Linked DNA regions of Homo sapiens: all the other regions are linked to region 1. Evidence: promoter capture Hi-C in human tissues and cell types (Jung and others, 2019). All regions are on one chromosome and are shown on one strand. The core of a region is centred on a gene start or on the middle of the fragment in contact, and the rest is flanking DNA. Distances in the headings are between cores, read along the strand shown. Region 1 holds the start of SLC25A4 (solute carrier family 25 member 4). Region 2 overlaps LOC105377582 (a long non-coding RNA gene). Region 3 has its middle 44 kb from the start of TLR3.

Evidence for each region. The method cuts DNA at HindIII sites, captures the fragments that hold promoters and counts their contacts. A contact is called where the count stands out against the background at its distance.
Region 2: a contact is called between a fragment that was not itself captured here and the fragment with the promoter of SLC25A4 in region 1, in 2 of the 25 tissues and cell types used here (IMR-90 fibroblasts and lymphoblastoid cells).
Region 3: a fragment that was not itself captured here is called in contact with the fragment with the promoter of SLC25A4 in region 1 in 1 of the 25 tissues and cell types used here (dorsolateral prefrontal cortex).

What each region holds. Positions count from the first base shown.
Region 1 is chr4:185,140,415-185,144,728 of GRCh38, forward strand. It overlaps SLC25A4 (solute carrier family 25 member 4), which reads left to right and starts at 2,852. Exons shown (of 4, transcript NM_001151.4): 1 at 2,852-3,069. The coding sequence starts at 2,959. RefSeq lists a silencer at 2,624-2,923. The HindIII fragment of the contact is 7,904 bases long and covers 1-4,314 here.
Region 2 is chr4:184,278,941-184,283,217 of GRCh38, forward strand. The region is part of intron 1 of LOC105377582 (a long non-coding RNA gene); the gene reads right to left. It also overlaps the pseudogene RN7SL28P. Among named protein-coding and RNA genes, the nearest start is that of MYL12BP2, 33 kb to the right of the region's middle. RefSeq lists enhancers at 2,526-2,655, 2,696-2,765, 2,786-2,935, 3,886-3,935. The HindIII fragment of the contact is 5,968 bases long and covers 1-4,277 here.
Region 3 is chr4:186,023,313-186,027,583 of GRCh38, forward strand. It overlaps the pseudogene RNU4-64P. Among named protein-coding and RNA genes, the nearest start is that of TLR3, 44 kb to the right of the region's middle. RefSeq lists an enhancer at 3,798-4,271. The HindIII fragment of the contact is 3,937 bases long and covers 1-3,890 here.

The DNA of each region.
Region 1 (4,314 bases), core at 1,602-4,101:
TATTATGAGAACTTAATATATGACAAACTAGACTTAGTAATATAAGACAAATAATGGAGAGAAGAAAATATCTACTTAAGAATTAGTATTGGGATACCCAAGCATGATATGGAGAAAAGTGAAATTAGACCCATACCTCCATACAATATAAAACGTAGTGTTAGACATTTTAAAAATAGCTACTCAAAGTAGAAGAAAAAAACTGATATATGTACTAGAGTAAATAGACTGCTATATCTATAAAAGAGATACATTTACATCAGAACATGAAATAGATCATCATCATACCATAGATCTGTTCATAACACTAATAGAATGATATAATAAATATCAAAAGGAAAACAACAAAATGAAAAACATTCAACACATATTTATTGTCCCAAATATATAAAGAATTGTTGTTAATATAAATACTCTGCTTTCACTCCAGCAGTAGTCAAGGAAGATTAAAAGTTTATACAAAAGGGAAACCTTGTCAAACTGTCAAATTAAATTGAATCATATGGAATATATACAGCTTCATAGTAATTAAGTAAATACAAACTAAAACTCATAAATAACTCACAAATAACCAACTCTCTATTTTTTTAAAGCCAGTGTTGGAGAAGAGTGTGAGAGAAAGCCCATCTATATAACTGGTGGGTTGGTATTTCTGAAGAGCAATTTGTCAATATGTAGCAAAAGCTACAAAACTTTAAAAATCTTAAATCTATCCATTCCATTTGGGAAATATATGAGAAGAAAAAACTTAGAGGAGAAAATGAAGTTTGTGTAAGTTTCAATGTAGCAGTATTAGTTTTCCTTCCTTCCTTCCTTCCTTCCTTCCTTCCTTCCTTTCTTTCTTTCTTTCTTTCTTTTTTTTTTTTTGAGTCAGAGTCTTTCTCTGTTGCCCAGGCTGAAGTGCAGTGGAGTGATCTCAGATCACCATGACCTCTGCCTCTCGGGGGTCTCGTGCCTGAGCCTCCTGAGCTGCTGGGATTCCAGGCATGAGCCATCACGCCAGGCTAATTTTTGTATTTTTAGTAGAGATGGGGTTTTGCCATGTTGGCCAGGCTGGTCTCGAACTCCTGACCTAGGTAATCTGCCAGCCTCAGCCTCCCAAAGGTATGAGCCACCACACCCGGCCTATTTTTCATCATAAAAATAAGACACAATTCTAATGCACAATTAAAAGGAAAATGGAGGTATAAAAGCAAGTGCTCTATATTACAGGATGGGATACAGTACACTATTATAATTAAAAAGGTTTACTGTGTGGATTATGCTGATCCATGGAAATCAGTAAGTGAAGTTTTGATAAAGTGGAGCAAGTGACGAATACACTGAACTGTAAGGTCTTTGGAGATGGGCCACGTCTACTTATATTCAATCCACAGGGCTACACCTAGTTCTTGGTACACAGTACATGCTCAGCAAGAGTCTGTTGAATGAACACATACATGGTTTATCTGTTTGTCTCTTCCGAGTTCTTGACTTCTGTCTGCTCTGACCTCTGGCAGCTTTCCACTAGTTTCTAGCTTTCATTCTGCTTACCTGGATTTCGGAACTCTAGCCTGCCCCACTCTTAGATAAACGCATGCCCTCTGTGGCCCTGGAACCTTAGTGACTTCTGCTATACCAAAGTCTCCACGCCCAGGGTGACACGCAGCTGCAGCTCCGTAAACCTCTAACATGATGTCAGCAAATATTAAAAAAAAAAAGTTTATAAAACAATGAATAAACTTTGTTAAAGGTACAAATGAAAATTAGCAAACATGGGAAGATAATTGAGTGAAGAGTTTAAAGTTAAAAACGAATTGCAGTCATTCTAGGGGAAGGAACAGTTGTATTTGAAAACCTGTATGGTTACATGAACTGCCTAAAAAACAAGCTAAGGAAAATTAAAGCTCAGATTTATATATTTTAAGAAATTAATTGCAATTAATTTCCTGGGATTAAATAGCATTTCCTCAACCCCAGCTGTCATTAAAAAGAGGCAAATACAGCCAAGGACTGGATCTCCGGAAGGCTGACAGCACTGACCCTCAAGAAGGCACCGGCTGACAGACAGAACATTCTGCCCTAATATGTGCTGAAATTCCGCTGAGAGCAGAGTGGTACATTGAACCCTTTAGGGGCTTACAAAAGAAGTGTCCTGTGTTTTAGAGTCACAGAGTTTTGCAGAAACAAGTATGAATTCACCTAGTGGCCCCCTGCACCAGGTCTTTCCTGTGGGCACTGAGTGCCAGACACATCAATATGTAATAGCAGAATGAATGACTGAACGAACGATTGAATGAAAAGAAATGAGAGGCAGCAGGTTGTCAGATTCTATGAGGCAATCACAGCATCAGGTGACCTTAGTATCTATTTGAGAGGACTGCCATTTATTCTCGGGAGCGCACGGCTCTAAAGAGGCCCATATCCAGGCAGTGAGCTCTGGTGGGGGGCGCCTTTAGATGCAAGAAGGAGGAAACAGCTCGAAATCCCTGGGCCTGAGCGCGGCCCGTGCAGGCCGGAGGGTCAAGAACTCTCCACCGGCGGCAGCGGCCCGGTGTCTGCCCCGGCTTCGCCCCGGCCTAAGGCTGCCTGTGCTATAAATACGCGGCCCACATGCCGCGGTGACACGGTGTTCCCTGGGCTCGGCGGGACAGATAACATGAATGTGCCCTTTAAACGTCCCAAGTTGCAGGGACAGCCCCCGGCCCAGCCTCGCTCCCGGAAGCGCCTTCGCCCCCGATGCCCTCTGCAGCTGGGAGGAGGGGGCGCCCCGCACCTGCCCAGCCAATGCGCGGCGCGAGCGCCGGCCGCGACCCGCCTCCTCTCGCGAGAGCCCGGCGGGGATATAAGGGGGAGCTGCGGGCCAGGCGGCGGCCCCCTAGCGTCGCGCAGGGTCGGGGACTGCGCGGCGGTGCCAGGCCGGGCGTGGGCGAGAGCACGAACGGGCTGCCTGCGGGCTGAGAGCGTCGAGCTGTCACCATGGGTGATCACGCTTGGAGCTTCCTAAAGGACTTCCTGGCCGGGGGCGTCGCCGCTGCCGTCTCCAAGACCGCGGTCGCCCCCATCGAGAGGGTCAAACTGCTGCTGCAGGTGAGGACCGCGCGGTGCAAGAGGCGGGCGCGGGCGCGGCGGGCCGGGCGGGGCGCGCGATGCGGCGCGAGCTGCAGGGCGCGGGGCGCCGCGGAAAATCTGCGCCAGGCCACAGGCCCGGGCGCCCGCCCGCCCGCCCGCCCGCCCGCGGGGGAAGAAGGTGCCCTCTGCGTAGAGACAGGTCCAGCGTCAGTCGCAGATTCCTGGTGTCGGGTGGCGCCCGGCGTTCGGGTGTCTATATATGGAAACCCACCCGGAGCCGGTTTACGTGTGCCAGATCCTGCGCCCGTGACAGCACGGGCGTGCACTCAGGCCCGGAGGCACCTAGTGATTGCCAGTATTTTTGGCACCGTCTTATGCGCACGCACCTTTACAATAAAAACATCAAAATAATCATCACCCAAGAATTCCCTTATCGTATCTCATGCACAATGCTGTATGTAGGCTGACGCCTTCATCTTTATGTAACCTCTGTGAGAGAGTTATTCTTCTCCATTTTACAGATGAAGCTGAGGTTTTGAAATATTAAGAAACAATTTTCGGAATAAACTCAGATCATCCTGTCTCCAAATCTTTTCCTCCCCTACCTGGTCGCTGAATGGTTTATCATCCTCTCGTGTTTTCCTCCACCTGCCCAAAAGGTCAGGGCCCCTCAATGAGGAAGAGCCCAATTTGGGAGTCAGAATTACTAACAACAAAACCCCCACAAATTGCTCACAACGGCAGCAAACCCTTAATAATTGATTACTTGGATTATCTGCTTGAAAACTTTGGAGGCCTAATGTTTAGTGGATTTATTCTCCTTCCTCTATTAGAGCATCTAGTAGAGATCCTCATCTCCAGGGTGATCAGAGTGACACTGAGAAATTGTCATTTTTTGGCCATCATGTCTATTAAATCCAAAGCCCTTTGAAGCAGGGAGTGTTACTCATTTCTGTCCCCCAGTAAGCCCCTCATACAGTTCTCAAACCTAGGGAAAGTGAAATAAATAAATGGCTATAGCTTTATATAATTCAATCACCTTTTCAGTTTATTTGGGGCAATACCTTTTCCCTCAAATACCCTAATAATTGAAGCAACATTGGATTATTTTGGCTTGTTATCCAGTAACTAACATGGATAACAGTATCCATTTACACGTCCTCAGTATCCATTTGATTTCCTCATCCTTTTTTTCTTCAAAAAAAAAATCTAGGAAGTGCAAACCTTTTTTTTTCTCCTGTCCTCTTCCCTTCTCTCTACCCT
Region 2 (4,277 bases), core at 286-2,785, 860 kb before region 1:
GTGTGGTGGCACATGCCTGTATTCCCAACTACTCAGGAGGCTAAGGGAGGAAGGTTGGCTTGAGCCCAAGAGTTCTGGGCTGTAGTGTGCTATGTCCACTGGGTGTCTGCACTAAGTTCAGCATCAATATGGTGACCTTCTGGGAGTGGGGAACCACCAGGTAGCCTAAGGAGGGTTGAACCTGCCCAGGTTAAAATAGAACAGATAAGAATTCTGTGCTGATAAGTAGTGAGATCCAACCTGTAAATAGCCACCACACTCCAGCCTGGGCAACATAGTGAGACCTTGTCTCTAGAAAAATAAAATAAAATAAACCTTTTTAAAAAATGAATCTAAATTCACATGTAACGATACCTTTCTTGGAGATTGTTTTACTTGAGAGCTGGCAACATAAGTTCTTGACTTTTCAACACAGAGTTCCTCTAGTTTCTTTTACAGTATTTTAGATCACTGCTTTTCAAATGTTAATGTACACTGGAATCTCCTACAGATTCTGATAAAATGCAGATTTTGATTCAGTAATTCTGGAGTAGGCCTAAGATTCTGTGTTCCTCAAAGACTCTCGGATGATGGCCAATGCCACGGGTTCTTAGACCTCACTTTGAATGGCAAGATTTATATTATTCATTTTTTTCTAACTGCCCGCAAAACACTTCAGTGCAGTTGTTAAAATTATTTTTGTTGTTGCAACTCTCATGTTACATACAGGAAGCTTCAGGAACCCTGCTTGGCTGATGATCTCAGCTCCTCTTAGCTTTGGAGATGGGGTTGGAGTTATCCAGCCAGTGCATGCTCTGTTGGAGACAGTGCCACATGAGGCCCTTTCTAAGACAGACAGGGGCACGGTGACAGGGAGACACTAGTGGGAACATTTCTATATGGGTCTTTAATGAATCAAGAATCTGGTTACTGTTTAAAAGAGTGTCTTGAATGGATTTGTCAGAAGAGCCAAGGAGCCTCTGTTTGGAACCGTTCTCAAATGGCATGATTGTAGTATAAGGCAGGGAGCGTATGAATGGCTTCTTTTCAGGAGAAGAAAAAGAGCAAGGGGATTGAAGTAATGGGGAGCCTCTGGGCTCATCTTTCAGCTGAGTCTGCCCAGCTCTCATTAGCGTACCCTCCTTATAGGTATGAACTGAAAAGGGAAGTTGGAGGGTTGTGTCTATGGAAGGGACTAGGGGACCTGGGGAACTGAGGACCAGGAATTACAGTCTCATATTCAGTAAAGGACTCAAAAGTCAGTGATCCAAGTAATGACCAGAGAATATTAGAAAAGGAAAAACAGCCAGCTGCATTCTTAGATGTTATTAGAAATCAAGGCATGTATAGCTGAGGGGTGCTCAGAGACTCTCTGGTTCTGACCCTGTGTTTGCAGATAAAGAAACTAACATTCAGGAAGTTGGATGACTTGCTCAAGGTCATAAGATTGGGTAGGGCTTTTAGCTGGCTTTTGAACTCGTGGTTCCGAGCTCTTTGCAGTTGAACATATTTGTTGTTTCTCGCATCAATTAACTCTAACACATTTAATTAGATATAAAAACTGTTCCCATGGATTAAATTCTGTTTTTGAAATTGTGCGGGCAGTGCCCTGGAAAAAAAAAATCAGCAATAAAGGCCATAGCTATGTCCCCAGAGCTCAGCTGTGGCACTTGTGGGCAGCTACATAGTTTGAAGTTTGAACAAAAGTTTTCTGAAAAGGAATTTGGAGGAAAGACACTTTCTTACAGTGAACAGTTTGCAAACTGGGGAGACACTGTCTTCCTGTATAAGGAAGGTGTGCATTTCAGAGAACAAAGAGAGGGTTTGGCTTTTGTAGGTTCTAAATCAGGTCTGTTTATGCAAATAAATGATTCAAACTTGCTTAGTTCTGATTGATCAATGCAGCTGAGTTTTGATTGGTTGACACAGCTAGGCCCTGATTGGCCAAGGTGGGGGAGCTCTGATTGGTTGGTTCAGGCAAGCTCTGAAAGTCCACAGTTAAACATAGGTGTAGGTTTCCCCAGAACTCAGAGTACATCTGTGACCTCTAGCCAGCAAAGGGCCGCTTGGCTCTGTTATAAACGTAGGCCCAGTTAGCAGCTCAGGATCTATCTTGAAGGATTGGCTCTTTCAGGTGCACATTTGTTCACAAAAGCATGGTTGGCTTCTTCACACAAGGACAGGTTTCTTCACAGAGAATCAGTTACACACTCCTGAGCATATTTAACTCCCACAGCCCATTAAGTAGATGATAATATTCTTATTTTACAAATAAGGAAACTGAGACTCGGAATAAATAAATTGTTGCAGTTCACGCATTTGCACCGAGATTCAGCCCCAGGCCTGCCTTCTCCCACTCCTGTGCCCCTTCCACCCACTGCCTGGCCCCCACCCTGCTGTTTCCTGCTGGGTGTGCCGGGAGCACTGACCTGGGGCTCTGGGGACAGGACTCGGTTTTATAAAGTGCTGGGAGAAGTAGGAGAATTCAGAGGGAAATGGGATCTGATGCTTGGATTATGGGAGAAGCAAGATAAAAGGATGCTAAAGGCAGGAGAAGCAATGGGAGAATGTCTGCCTGGTGTCCCGTGGTCCCTGTGCAGCTGCTCCTCTCTATTGTTTCTGTGAAGGGATCATGCAAGGTACTTTCCAGCCACTGTTTTAGACTTTTGTTTTTGATGAGCTGGAACAGCAGCAGGTAGGTAGGTGGTGGGGGCCCTCTTTTTCACTTTTCTTTCTCTCTTTCCTTGTCGTGAGCTCAGGGGCCATAAGCCACCCGTTCAACAGCCAAAGGATGAAGCAGATCTTGGCAATGTTACCATTTCTGTAACTACTGGAGGCTTGCTGCCCTTTGACAGACTGGAGTGGAGCGCTTCAGGGGAAAAGCAGTACCCACCAACACCGTGGCATCTCTGCTCAACGCTGACCATCACGTTGAATTTCTGTTTATGTCTGTAGTAAGATAATCAGCTGGAAAGCAGATTGCTATTGAGAGGGTTTTCTGGTTTTCTTAGTAGGTCAAAAACCAAATTAGATGACCCACATCATAGGCCCGGATCAGTTTAGAAAAATCCCTCCAGTCCTTCAGTGGCATCCTTAGCAGGAGGTTCTGACTTGGAGGAAATGGACAGCCTGCATTTTCTGGAACTGAGAGGTTGCAGGAGGAAGGGAAAGAGAGGGAGATCAAGGATGACAAAATCTGGGATTTCAGTTTATCCCTTCTCTGAGGACAGAAACAGCTCTCAAGCAGGAAGAGAGAGGCTTTAGAAATACCCAGATCAGTGAGCCTGGGAACCTTGATTGTCCACTTTTCTGGGCAGAGGAAGGGGAAGTTTCTGGTCCCAGAGAATTCCAGCTCAGCACCACACCCAAAACAGTGCAAGTGGATGACAGTTAAACCCAAGGCGGGGCTGTAGGGTGCAGGGGCCTGCATGTCGCACCCTGGAGTCCTGACAGTTTCCCCGAGCCACATGAAGGGCACACAGCCATACTGAGATGCCTTGGCACACAGAGATCTCAGACGGCTTCAAACAAGCCTTAGTGTGAATCAGTCATCAAAACCAGAAAACACTTTCCGGGTCCTCAGACTCCACCGTGGTCTGCAGTGCATCACCCCAAAAGGCCAGAGGAGGCCAGTCACACCTCAGAGGGCAACAGTGCAGGAAGCGGCCCAACCCAGCCGCTTTGTTGCACAGACTGGCATGTCAATACAGGATACAAACTGGGCCTCACTGTCTGCTCTGCCATGAGTTTTCCTAAGCCACACCTCTCCTCTCTAACTAGGGTGAACAAACATCACCTGCTCTACTGGCATAATTATTAATAGTGCCCTCTTTCTCTCTCAAACACATCTCGGATTGATCTGACCTGAGTGGTTAAAAAATAAATATTATAGAATAAGATGCATGCTGTAATTCCAAGTAATAATGAGAAAAAGCTCACCTATGTGTGCAAGGTTCCTCTATGCAGGGAGCATATTTGGAAGGACACTGCTAACCACGGTTACCTGAGGATGGTTTGGGGACACGGACAGCACTGCATTATTTTTACACGCATTGCATTCTAAACCAGGCACTTGTTTCTAAAAATGAAAAAAAAGTGCCCGTCTTGGAAGATGATTTGTGATGGTCACTCTATCCAGAGCACAGGCCTCACCTTGCCATGGAGCCGGAGAGGGCAATCAAATCCGAACATCTGCACGTCTCTGCTAAGGGGCTGAGTGTTTGTTTTAAGCTGGAGTAGTTTCTATCATTGCAAACAGACTAAGTTTACCAGCTCATGCTAAACACAGTTCAGTTTGT
Region 3 (4,271 bases), core at 672-3,171, 880 kb after region 1:
AAATATTAACAGCAAAAGACTTAAGTAGGAGTGCCAAGGCAACCACAAACGGGCCAGCAGTTTAGTTTGCAAACAGAATTGAATTGTACAGGGCAGGGCTCACACACTGACCCCGGCCCAGGGGGACCCTTAAATATCAAGGCAGGAGAACATTGGTGTGTCAGCCTACGTGGGACCAAACTGCAGAATTTCCTACAAGATCCGTCTTTCCTCCTTTTTTATAGTCCGATACTCTCTTTGTCAACCTGTTTCATTAGTTAGTAGGTCACAAAAAGGGAAACTTCTCAATTGCTGAAAAATCTTTCTCTAGTTCTTAAAATCACAAGGTTTGTGCCTGTAACATACATGTTTTATATCTATTCCGACAGTTGCCATCCAGTGTGTATTGTTACCACGTTTAATACATTAAAGTAAATCCCACTGCACCATGCGTGTGGACTGCCGTGCACACTGACTGTGCTCTTTTTGTTCAGTATGGCTCCGCTTTTAAAGCTGTGGTCTGTGTGTGTTTGTGTGGATGACGTGCACGGCTTTCTGAAACGATGCTCCAGTGGTGGTGAAGGGGACAGCGGGGCTGGACTCTGCCCACCCTGGCCCAGCTGGGCACCCAGCTCCCGTCCTGGCTCCTGCTCCTGTTCTGCCCCTCTCACCAGATTCTGAGCCTGGGTTTGTTCACAGACTGATCCCCAGACTCCAACGCCTGGGACTTGACACCTTCTGCTAAAACTCTTCTCTACATTCAACGTGCCGCAGGCTCACCTTTCACAAAACGACTAGATTTTGGCTGATGAGCCCTGTTCCCGTGGGCGTCTGACTGTAGTGAGTCCTTGTTTGGGCTGCACCGTTCCTGTCTCGGCACCGATGTAGTCGACCGTCCAGGTGAGGCCGAACCAGGAGAGCTTTGGCAGCGGTGAAGCCTCTCCATTCTTTCCAGACCAGTGCTGAAATACACCCCAGTGGTTCCAACAAATAAACTAATATCCAGACATCCACCCCTCCAGGGACAACAAATATAGAGGTTAATACAAATATTGAGAGGACAGGTGGGGCGTGGTGGCTCATGCCTGTAATCCCAGCACTTTGGGAGGCCGACGCAGGTAGATCACTTGAGGTCAGGAGTTTGAGAGCAGCCTGGCCAACATGGTGAAACCCTATCTCTAGTAAAAATACAAAAATTAATCATGGTGGCAGGCACCTGTAATCTCAGCGACTCGGGAGGCTGAGGCAGGAGAATTGCTTGAACCCAGGAGGCAGAGGTCGCAGTGAGCCGAGATCACGCCACTGCACTCCAGCTGCAGCCTAGGGCCGAGTGAGACCCTGTCTCCAAAAAACAAAACAAACAAAAAATAAAAAAAAAAAATAAAATAAAAATAAATATTGAGAGGACAAATATGAAAGAAAGCAGATTAGATATTGGCATCAAGCTTTTTAAAGAAAAAAATACTGATTTTATTCAAATGCAGCGAAGTTTCTATTATTAATACTGCCACCGCAGAACCCGCTGACCTTGCGAAATGCTGGGTTCACCTGCAGGACGCAGACACAGAGTTCACTGTGGCTAAGACCAGGTCAGCCTATGGGATCTAGAGAGTTCTGATCCAGGCAAACTCTTCCAGGAAATGGAACTGTGTATCAGAGAATGAGAAATAGAAGGAACACTTTTCTGTGAATGCCTCTTTACTGTCTCAGTATAGAAAACTTACACAAAATTCAAGAAGCAACTCAAATAACTCTGCCTCCTCATGCCCCTGCCTGCTACTTATTCAGATGCACGTTCCCACCGTGTTTCTCCCACTCTCGGGGCGGCACTCATGACTCTATGACGCTCGTTTCTGTGCCTTGCCTCCCCCAGGATTGTGAGCGAGGGTAAGACAAGGATTGTGCCTCATTCATCTCAGTATCTCAGCTCTTCGTAGAGTGATGTGCAAATAGTAGGCCCTTCAAAGATGCGCGGAGTTAACACAGAGTTCATTTCTGAAGCTTTTGGCAGCATGGATGCTGTTGATCCCTTGCTGGGAGGGAACTAAACTTCAGACCACCCATGTGGGATCTTGAAACAGAAACAGGGAATCCTGTTTTCACTTCATATGTAGATGGCTTTACAAAGATGTCACTCCCACCTTAGCAAGGAGGAAAAGCCATGTGATCTTCACAGTGCCAACTTTTCTTGAGCACTTCAGAAAGCTGAGGTTGCAAGGCAAGCAAGTGAAGTCAGTTCTGAGGAGTGACAGGTCCCTCGGGGAGAATCGGGCCGCACAGATGGTTTCACCCTTGGCAGAGTGTGAGAGGAGGGTGGATGGAGCAGCCGTAAAAGCAGGTTGGAAGAAAACAGCCAGGATGGGCCGGGTGCGGTGGCTAACGCCTGTAATCCCAGCACTTTGGGAGGCCGAGGCAGGCGAATCACAAGGTCAGGAGTTCGAGACCAGCCTGGCCAACATGGTGAAACCCCATCTCTACTAAAAATACAAAAATTAGCTAGGCATAGTGACAGGCGCCTGTAATCCCAGCTACTCGGGAGGCTGAGGCAGGAGAATCGCTTGAACCCGGGAGGCGGAGGTTGCATGAGCCGAGATCACGCCGCTGCACTTCAGTCCGGGGGGCGACAGAGTGAGAGTCCGTCTCAAAAACAAAAAAAGCAAAACGAAACAAAACAAACAAAAACAAAACAAAAAACCCAGCCAGAATGTAGCAAATTCTTAAAGTCTGAGTGTGAGCTTGTGTGCTAGATGGTTGAGAAAGCCCCGGTGGGCCTGAGACACAAGGAGAACCTGCATTCACCTAGTGTTAGCTCTTTCCACCATCTCCACTGTGTGCTCCTGAGGAAGATCTGGACAGGGAAGGACAATCCAGCTACTGTCCCTGACACAGATACTGCTTCAGGGGAGGGGAAGAAGCAAAAGCGCTGTTTGTCCTTGGGGGAAGACCTGGAAAATACTCAGGTGCAAGATCCTGTGATGGATGCAAAGCGAAGGCGGTTACCATGGGGAAGGGAGCTGGGAAGCTTTGCAAGCAGGAGGAATAGCTGCTGGGCAAAGTGACACCACTTTGTGGAAAGCTCACTATCACCACCTTCCTCTCAGCCCCTACAAGCCCAGAGAACAGGCAAAGTGCTTTGGCGGAGGTGTCTAGAAGAATCTAGTGCTTCTGTCACCAGGTGTGTGAAAATATCTCAACTCCTCACAAGGTCCACTGCCTTGCGCTGCTCATTTTCAATTAGCAATAATCATGCCTTGGATAAACCTCATTGGCTATGATACAGCCACTGCAGAGAGCTATGCTGTTCATTTTCTTCACCTAAGACTCACAAAGCAGGGGATGGGGGGCAGTCAGACCTTAGCTACAAGAGGCTGGGAAGTGTAATTTTCATCCATCTTTCTTTCCTTCCCTCCCTCCCTCCCTTCCTTCCTTCCCTTTCATCTCTCTTGTCCTTTCTTTCTTCTCTTTCTTCTCTGCCTCTGCAGTTCAAACAGGCATTCTAGCTGTAGTTCAGAAAGTGATTCCATAAATGGGTTGGAACAGGAGCTGAAAAGCCAGTCCATAATTTCTACTGCACCTCTCATCCCACTAAATACCATTACGTCAGAGGCCCTGTTCATTTCCTTTACAGTGCCACAGCAGTTACAACAAAACAAAATACACATAATGGTGGTTTATTTTTACTTATTTAATGTCCTCCTCTGCCCCATTCATTTATAAGTTCCGCTCATGCCTCGTGTAAACAAAAACTAAAACTCTAAGCCCTCAACCGACTGAATGGATCCCTTCTGAGCCAAGGAGACCTCAAATGATATGGTTTGGATGTGTGTCCCCTCCAAATCTCATGCTGATGTAATCCCCAATGTTGCAGGTGGGGCCTGGTGAGAGGTGTTTGGGTCATGGGATGTATCCCTCATGAATGGCTTGGTGCCATCCTCATGGTAATGAGTGAGTTCTTGCTGTATCAGTTCATGGGAGAGCTGGTTGTCTAAAATAACCCGGCACCTCTGTGATTGCCAGACAGTTTCTTCTTGCTGGCTGCACAGACAAAATCAATCCACTGAGACCACAGCATTGCAGTACAGAAAGAGTTTAACTGACACGAAGCCGGACCACATGGGAGAACTGGAGCTATCATTCAAATTGGTCTCTCTGAAGGCTCAGAGGTTAGAGTCTTTATGACAATTTGGTGGGCGGGGAGTTAGGGAATGGGCGCTGCCGATTGGTTGGGGATGAAATCACAGGGTGCAGAAACAATCCCCGTGCTCTGAGTCAGCTGCTGGGTGGAGCCACAG